Linked DNA regions of Homo sapiens: regions 2 and 3 are each linked to region 1. The links are contacts of gene promoters, found by promoter capture Hi-C in human tissues and cell types (Jung and others, 2019). All regions are on one chromosome and are shown on one strand. The core of a region is centred on a gene start or on the middle of the fragment in contact, and the rest is flanking DNA. Distances in the headings are between cores, read along the strand shown.

Region 1 (2,739 bases), core at 238-2,737:
CCCCAACCTCACCCACTTCCTGTCCATCGACATTGGGCTCCTCCTTCACACTGCAGCTGAGCTGGACAGACCCCTCTATTCTGGTGTCCTGGGGACCTTCCCCAGGGGACTCCACTGTCCCTGAGGGGTGGGGGCTCCCAAGTGGTTCCTCTGTCTTCTGGGCTGCAGGGAGCACCTCCTGCTTCAGGACATGGGCTGTGATCTGAGGAGAAGAGGTAGGTCACAATGGCTCTAGCCAGGGTCTATCCCTCCAAGAAGCTGATGCCAGCCACACTCACCCAGCCCAACAGTTGCCCAGGGTCATGCTGCAGTCCTTCGACTAGGGCAGCGGCCTCCTCAGGACTGCCTGGCCGCTGACCGCGCACCCAGGCCTGGATCTCGGGAGGCAGTGTGCCCAGGAACTGCTCCAGCACCAGCATCTCCAGCATCTGCTCCTTGGAGTGTGCCTCAGGCTGCAGCCACTGGCAACACAGCTCACGCAGCCGGGCCAGGGCTTCTCGGGGACCTGCCACCTCCTGGTAGCAGAACCCTCGGAAGCGGAGGCGGGCAGTCTCAGGCTCCTCAAGGGTGGTCTCTGGGTCCATGACGGGCAGGCATGGGGGACCCAGAGGGGATGGCATTCTTGCTCAAGGGGGTGGTCTTGGAATCGTCAAGATGGGCCTACAGAAAAGGAAGGGTCGGAATGTCAGCCAAGAGAATCTGGCCAGGGGAAGGCAGACACCAGGCTCAGCCCAGGGGGCTGAGACCAGGACCAAGTGTACTCTGAGGCCAGAAGAGATAAGGCCAAGAAAGCTTCATGGAAGGAGGAGGGTCACAGGACCCAAACAATGATGGCAAATGAGAGCAGGAGGAAGCCTCAGGGACAAATGCTTGGACGCAAGGTGTCCAGGGAGCTTCCTGGAAATTGCAAACAGTTGGGTCCAGCAGGGGACTGCTGGGAGATGACGCTAAAGAGGTGGAGAAAGACAGTCATCACAGAGTTCCAGCGCCAGGCTGAGGAGCCACAGTGTCTAGCCGAGGTGCGAGGAGAGTGGACCAGGGTGGGCGGGTAGAAGGTGGGGCCAGGCTGTAATGTACGGGGACGAGTCGCCCTCCACAATCTCGGGGAGGTTGACTGGGTGGGACCTCCTTTAGGAATGGCTCTGGGGAGGGGGCACGTGGACATCGTGCTCGCTGACCACAGCGAGCCGTGGGCGACTCACACTGCCGGGGCCCGTGCATGTGAAAACGAAAAGCAAAGGCCAAGAAAAACGGGGCCAAAGCTCCACGTTGCGCGGAGTCGAGGGATGGCCACAGCATCCCGGCCCTGAAGGTCTGCAGTGAAAGACGCCCACCTGGACGGGCCTGAGAGACCAGGCCTGACACCCGGCCTATCCGAGGGATGCTCGAACTTCGGGATCTGTCCCCAAAAGGGGAAGGCAAGAGGGAGGCGTTCCAAGAGGACTTGCCAGGCCCGGCCCCCCGGAACGGCGTTGAGGGTAGGAAAGGCCTGAGCGAAGGCTGAGGTGACGCGCGCGGCCTGTCGGGAAGTGGGCGGGCCCTCCAGGGCGCCGACAGCAGGAGCCGTTCAGGCCCCAGAGGGCGACCCCAAGCCCTCCCACGGGGTGGAAAGGCTGCGCCCACTCTGGCAGCCTGCGCTCACCTCAACCCGGAGCGGTTGCTTGGAGGCCGCTTCCCGGATGTGGCGCCGCACAACGCGGGGCGCCTCAGCCGGGTGTTGCCCCGGCGACGCCGCGCTGACCAATCTCTCGCCTGCACCGAAGGCACCGCCCATGCCCTTTGAACTACATTTCCCATGAGCATCAGCAAGACAGGCGCGACCGTGACCCGCTGACCCGCATTTGCAGCAGCCTCTGACGCCTGAGAGGCGCTCTGTTCCTCTAGGAGGTACGGCAGAGTCCCAGGGTTATATGGTCTCCCTCCGCTCTGAGAGCAGCTCTTCCCGGGTTATAAACTTGCGCGTCTGTACAGTGGGCCGGTTTCTATTGGCAGGTGAGGGGAGGGGGTTTTGCCCAATCAGAGGTGGCGCTTGCTTGGCCCCGCCGCCCCCACGCCATTCCCCGGGCCAGCCCCTAGATAACGCTAGGGCATATCCGCCCGCCTCCAGCTGTTCCCGTGGCAACGTTCAGGAGCGTTGCCTCGACTTCCGAAGAGGCTGGAAGTGGCGGCCCAGTGGTTTCCTAGGTCGAGTAGTTCGCTGGGACTCGCTTCCAAGTGGACCCGGGAGAGGCGGTGGTGTAGAAGACCACCCTGAGCCTGGGCTTTCTCCCGCCAGGAGGGTGCGAGGGCCATCTTTGACCTCTGTTAAGCGCCCTAAGGAGGTACCGACGGTTGTGACCGCAGTCTCTGACGTCTTCAGATGTCAGTCCTACAAAGTCGGGGGTGGAGGTTTCCCTCCAGGCTGATCGGACATGCTCAACCGTTTATTTACCTTTGAATTTGGGGAGCAGAACTAGCCAGGGTGACACTAGTTTCTCCCAATAAGCAGTGTTACAGTTTTCTAAATCTGTGGGGTCAGTTTTGCTTCCACACTTAAAAGTGGCCGAGCCATTACTTAGTCAGTCCTAAATTACACCGCCTGTTTTGGTTTCTTTGGATACCTGGGAATCCCTGCTGCCTGCTCTGGATGAAGAGCAGTGGTCTTGATCACCGATTGGAAGCACCGAGCATGTGCGTGGATGAGACTTGTCAACTCGGAGCTTTCCAACGGCCTCCTCAGGTTGTTTTTGGGGATGAGGT
Region 2 (2,700 bases), core at 91-2,590, 660 kb after region 1:
CCACGCTCACACCACACGCACACCACAAAACAAAGAACAGGTAAAAAGGGCACACATACACTTTTACCGTTTACACCAAACCAGAATCAAAATCCAAATCAGAGTATCCAGAAATCCAAGCCAGGTCAAAACCAAAACGAAAGTATCAAGCAATCCAAATCAAGTCAAAAACAAAAACCAAAGTGCCGGTACAGGCATGCCGTGGGTGATCAGGCCACCCTTCCACTCAAATGGAGTGGGCAAGTTCCAAAGACTAGTCTTACCAAGTTTCAGATGTCCGGACTCCAAGTGCCTGTTCCTTCCCAGTGTTCAGCCGCTGCATTGATCCTCTGTGGGGGCCTGCCACACGCCACTCTGGCGAGGTGTTCCACTGGGGCAATTGCCTACCCGGGAGTGCTCTCAGGTTCTGCGTCCCTCAAGCTGGCCAGAGTCCCCTGTAGGGATGCTCCACAGGGCAGGCCTAAGCTGCCTAAGGGGCTGCCTCGACTATCTGTTAATCACCTGGCTTCCCAGTCAGGGAACCAAGAAATGTAGCAGGACAAGCCGCAGGGCTGTATTCAGCCTGGAGCTTTGGCAAGACTCACATCTCCAACTACCAAGCTCCCCAAGTGAGGAATTCCTGTCCCTTTTAAGGGCTTACAACTCTAAGGGGGTCCACATGAGAGGTTTGTGATCGATTGAGCAAGCAGGGGGTACACGACTGGGGGCTGCATGCAGTGGTAATCAGAACGGAACAGAACAGGACAGGGATTTTCACAATGCTTTTCCATACAATGTCTGGAATCCATAGATAACATAACCGGTTTGGTCAGGGGTCGATCTTTAACCAGGCCCAGGGTTGGCACCTGGCTGTCTGCCTGTGGATTTCATTTCTGCCTTTTAGTTTTTACTTGTTTCTTTGGAGGCAGAAATTGGGCATAAAACAATATGAGAGGTGGTCTCCTCCCTTAACAGCACAAACGCTTAATTAACATTTCTTTTTCTTTTGAGACAGGTTCTGTCGCCCAGGCTGGAGTGCAGTGGTGCAGTCATAGCTCAGTGCAGCCTGGACCACCTGGGCTCAAGCAGTCCTGACACCTCAGCCTCTCAAAATTTGGGATTACAGGCGCGCGCCACCGTGCGGGTCAGGAGGCTTCCCTGAGGGCCCCGGAGGTGGAGCTGGGCTTTTCCTTCCGAAGCGCCCCTGGGAATCTCTCTCTTTACGGCCTTGGAACCTGGGAAACTACATTACCCAGAAAGCTCTGCGTCAAATGACAGCACGGCAGAGCCAGTGAGAGTTCACATTGAAGGCGTTTCCGTGTGCGCAAGTAAGGTAGAGGCGGGACTCCCGGCGCCCTTTAGTAGCGACCATTTCCATTGGCGTTAGGGAGTCCTTGGAGCGCTGTGTTGGGACCGTGGTGGTGACTGGATCCAGGAGGTCGAGAGTCGTTCTTCTCTTTGCACAGACGTGACTCTGCAGCTCTTTAACGGCGCCCGCTGCTCTCAACCCAGCTTACCCCACGTGGTCCCATGGCGGCGGCCGCGCTAAGGTTCCCCGTTCAGGTAATTGTGGCGCCTTCCGTGCTCTCCGGTCACCTCCTAGTCACACAAGTCCTAAAGCAGCGAGGGAGCGGCACCTGTTTACGGCTCTGCAACCCGGACCCGGCGTCGGGACACTGAGGCGCTCTCGGGAGGGATCCCTGTTTCAGACACCCGTGGGATGCGGTGGGGAGAGCGACAGGTACAGGGAGGGGCGCGGGCAATGGCCTGGAGATGGACGGATCCGGGAGGATGGAACCTGGGGTCCACAGGCGCCTGTAGGGAACAACCTGTGAGGCGGAACTCCTCCTGGAAAAGCAAGGAGGCTGGGGGCTGTGAAATCATTGCGAGGACACTAGAAATAGGAGAATTTCCAAGAAAGAAGGGACTGGATCAAAGTCCAGGCTTTTAAAGTTTCCTAAAGGCCAAATAAATAACAGAGTAGAGAGGGGATGACGTTGGGGCCCTTTGAGATTGAATCCTTGTAGATCATATAGGTGGTAGAGATGACACTTTGTGCTGAGACACGCAGGTTAGACAATAGTCCAAGGTCACCTGGCTCCGTGGACACAAAAGCGTTCAGGGAGGCCTGAGCTTACCAGATCCTATCAGGGACACAGTCCTGTAAAGTCAGCCTCTTCCCTCAGGCCTTTATGGCTGTAGAAGCATTTAAGGAACGCATACAAGAAAGTGGAGGGTGGGGCCGGGTGCAGTGGCTCACTCCTGTAATCCCAGCACTTTGGGAGGCCTAGGCGGGTTGGTCCGGAGGTAGAGACCAGCCTGACCAACCATGGAGAAACCCTGTCTCTACTAAAAATACAAAATTAGCCAGGCGTGGTGGCGCATGCCTGTAATCCCAGCTACTTGGGAAACTGAGGCAGCAGACTCGCTTGAACCCGGGAGGCGGAGGTTGCGTGAGCCGAGATCGCGCCATTGCACTCCACCCTGGGTGACAGAGCGAGACTCCGTATCAAAAAAAAAAAAAAAAAAAAAAAAAAAAGAATGAGGTGCGTTCAGAGAGGGTATCTCTGCTGTGCTGAAGGTGCCACATTGGGCTTTCCATGACCTCGGCCATACTAGGGGAAGTGCCTGTCAGGAGGGGGTGGACTCTTATATCACAGCCACCGCACAGATACCTATTTGTTCAACTAACTATTGTTGTTGGTGGCTGTACCCCATGAC
Region 3 (2,700 bases), core at 166-2,665, 730 kb after region 1:
TGTAACAAAATATCAACTTTGAATCCAGCCACATCTCCTTAGCCATGAATCTTAGTCTGTTAACCCTCACTTGGATTACGGCAAAAGCCTCAACTCTCATCTTATTTCCTCCTCTCTCAACCCCACAGTCTGTTCTCCACTGTACAGCCAGAGGAGACTACAGCCAGATGAAACTGTGGCAACATCACCTCCTCCCTCTGGTCAGTTTCACCTCTAAGCATTTCACATCCTGGTACTAACTCCTGGGTTAACCTTCCAAGTATGTTTATACTGGTTGACAGAAATGGGAATACCTCCATATATCCTGTGTCACAGACTTTGGATCCTGGGTTTAAGGTTCCTCCAGGGTTCCCATATCAAAAAACTTAAAAAAAAAAAAAAAAAGGTACCTAAGAATCCCAGGACATCCCAATCTAAAGAGCATGTGGATAGGAGTTAGGGCCAGTGAGGGAATAACACCCTCCGCTTCCCTGCGGAGGTTCTGCAAGTGCTTCTGCAGCCAGGAGTTCCTGAGAGGAGAGGCACAAGCTACAAGAATGTATCCCTGATGAGATTTGATAAGCTCAGGCCTCCCTGAACTCTTTCTTGGCCCTGTAACTAGGTAAACGCGAGTTGGTTGTCTGAACTGAGCGCCTCAGTACAAAATGTCATCTCTTAGCACCTATCTGATCTGTAGAGGTTGAACAAGAATTCAACCTCCCAGGGCCCAAAAGTCATCCCCTGTGTTCTTTTTCGACTGGACTTTGGGAAACCTTTAAAGCCTGGACATTGATCTTTTCCTTCCTTTGTTGGAAGCTGTCCATGGCTTCCAGCGTTCTCAGGGTGAATACACGGTCCTCAGCCTGCTCTTCCAGGAGGAGCTCTGCCTCACACTTTGCTCCCGACAGGTGCCTGTGGACCCTAGGTTACGATCCTCTCGGCTCAGTTCATCTCCAGGCCTTTGCCTGCACCGCTCCCTGTGCCTGTAGCTCTCCTGAGCGCATCCCGCGGGTGTCAAAAACGGGGGCCCATAGAGAGCGCCTCAGTGTCCCGACGCCGGGTTCAGGGTGTAAAACCTTGAGCAGGCGCCGCTTCCTCTCTGCTTTTGGACTTAGGTAAAGATGAGGTGACCTGAGGGCACGGAAGACGCCACAATTACCTGAGCCGGGGGCCTCAGCGCGGCCGCCGCCATCCGACTGGGTGGGGAAAGCGGGGTCGAAAGGAGGGGGCGAGCAGTGCAGGTACCCGGGCACGGTGGTCCCGATCCCGGCCTTGGTGCGGGTCACGCCTAGCGCCTTTAAGGAGCTGCAGAGCAGCCTCTGTGCAGTCGGGACAACGTCTCGTCTCCACCTTCTGGGTTCAGTCACTTCTACACGACCCAACACTCCGCGGTCTCTCACTGGAAAATACACCCAACACCAATCAAAATGGCCACTAGTAGAGGACGCCGGAAGTCCCACCTTTATACTGTTTCCGCGGAAACGCCTTTATTTTGAGCCCTCATTGGCTCTGACGCGCTGTCATTCGACGCAGAGATTTCTGGGTTATGTAGTTTCCTCAGGTTCCAAGACAGTTCCAAGGCGGTAAAGAAGGCCTTCTCAGAGGCGCTTGATTGCACAGAGTGGTGAATAAACACTACTCTGGCCTAAGTGTCATCTTCCCTCAATTTGACTATACTTCTGCATGTATCTATTTCATGTCTATTTTCTCCTTGAAAGTCTATATCCCCTGTCAAACTATGCTGTCAGGTATACCCTACCATCACGTTCACTTACTTGCAGGAAAGGCCCAGCTCCATCTCAGCGGCCTGTCCTTAAAGTGCATGTCCTTCTAGGGTAGAGGATAGTCTCACCTAGCCTTAGAACCCGTATTGAGATTTTTGGAGATTAGTGTCTGTAACTGATCACTCAAGTATTTGAAAAAATATTATTTTAGATTTTGGGGAACTCGAGCTCTCCGATGCTAAACTTATTATTTAGGATGCCCCCAAAGACTAAAAATCCAAATTATCATAACGTTTTGAACAGTCTTTCAGTCGCAAAATCCCGGTACTGGCAGCAGAGGCTGATAAACATTATTGTGTTATAAATTCACATGAATGCACTCTGAGGCATTAGAGTCAGTTTCTCAGTCTGTCAGGGACAAGAGAGAACTAATCCAGATAGGACAAGACAAGGAAGATAGAGGAGAAATGTTGTGTTCCCTAAAGCAGGAATACATGCTGAATCTCTGTCTGTGATTCCCACAGAAGACAACTCTCCTGCCTATAAAATCAATCATAGTGTCCAGTACATTGAGCAACACTTTTATCCACTTAGTATCCCTCGCTTGAGATTCCAACTTATATTCAATTAATTCTGGATTAATTTATCTAAGATTTATCAATCTTACAGGAAGACCAATGAAAGAAATGCTATTTTGGTAGTGATAAATGGCTGCAGTTTTCAAAGGTGGGGCACGTATGCAGAAGATGCTCTCCACCTGTTGATATTGGTTGTGTCTTAAATCCAGGAGTTCATGTTATTGCTGGGAAGTGGCTATTTTTTTTTTTTTGTATTAGATAAAACAGACTTTATTTATTTCTTTTCTTTTTTTTTTTTTGTGACTATTCTTTATTTCTGTTTCCATGGCAAGGAGTGTTTTGCCTAATAAATTAATGTTATGGATGGGATTACAGGCATGAGCCACCATACCTGGCTAATTTTGTATTTTTAGTAGAGA

Evidence for each region. Contacts are between HindIII fragments. The study calls those that stand out against the background at their distance.
Region 2: a contact is called between the fragment with the promoter of ZNF552 here and the fragment with the promoter of ZNF446 in region 1, in 1 of the 25 tissues and cell types used here (spleen).
Region 3: a contact is called between the fragment with the promoter of ZNF776 here and the fragment with the promoter of ZNF446 in region 1, in 1 of the 25 tissues and cell types used here (spleen).

Annotation. Positions count from the first base shown.
Region 1 is chr19:58,475,100-58,477,838 of GRCh38, reverse strand. ZNF446 (zinc finger protein 446) reads right to left here and starts at 1,487. Exons shown (of 7, transcript NM_017908.4): 1 at 1,335-1,487; 2 at 279-660; 3 at 13-202. The coding sequence starts at 620. ZNF324 (zinc finger protein 324) reads right to left here. Exons shown (of 4, transcript NM_014347.3): 4 at 2,403-2,739. RefSeq lists enhancers at 1,229-1,428, 1,583-1,877, 1,699-1,948, 2,189-2,248, 2,309-2,398. The HindIII fragment of the contact is 17,703 bases long and covers 1-2,739 here.
Region 2 is chr19:57,813,553-57,816,252 of GRCh38, reverse strand. ZNF552 (zinc finger protein 552) reads left to right here and starts at 1,340. Exons shown (of 3, transcript NM_024762.3): 1 at 1,340-1,542. The coding sequence starts at 1,510. RefSeq lists an enhancer at 1,016-1,065. The HindIII fragment of the contact is 37,727 bases long and covers 1-2,700 here.
Region 3 is chr19:57,745,530-57,748,229 of GRCh38, reverse strand. ZNF776 (zinc finger protein 776) reads right to left here and starts at 1,415. Exons shown (of 3, transcript NM_173632.4): 1 at 1,139-1,415. The coding sequence starts at 1,171. RefSeq lists an enhancer at 1,354-1,403. The HindIII fragment of the contact is 15,716 bases long and covers 1-2,700 here.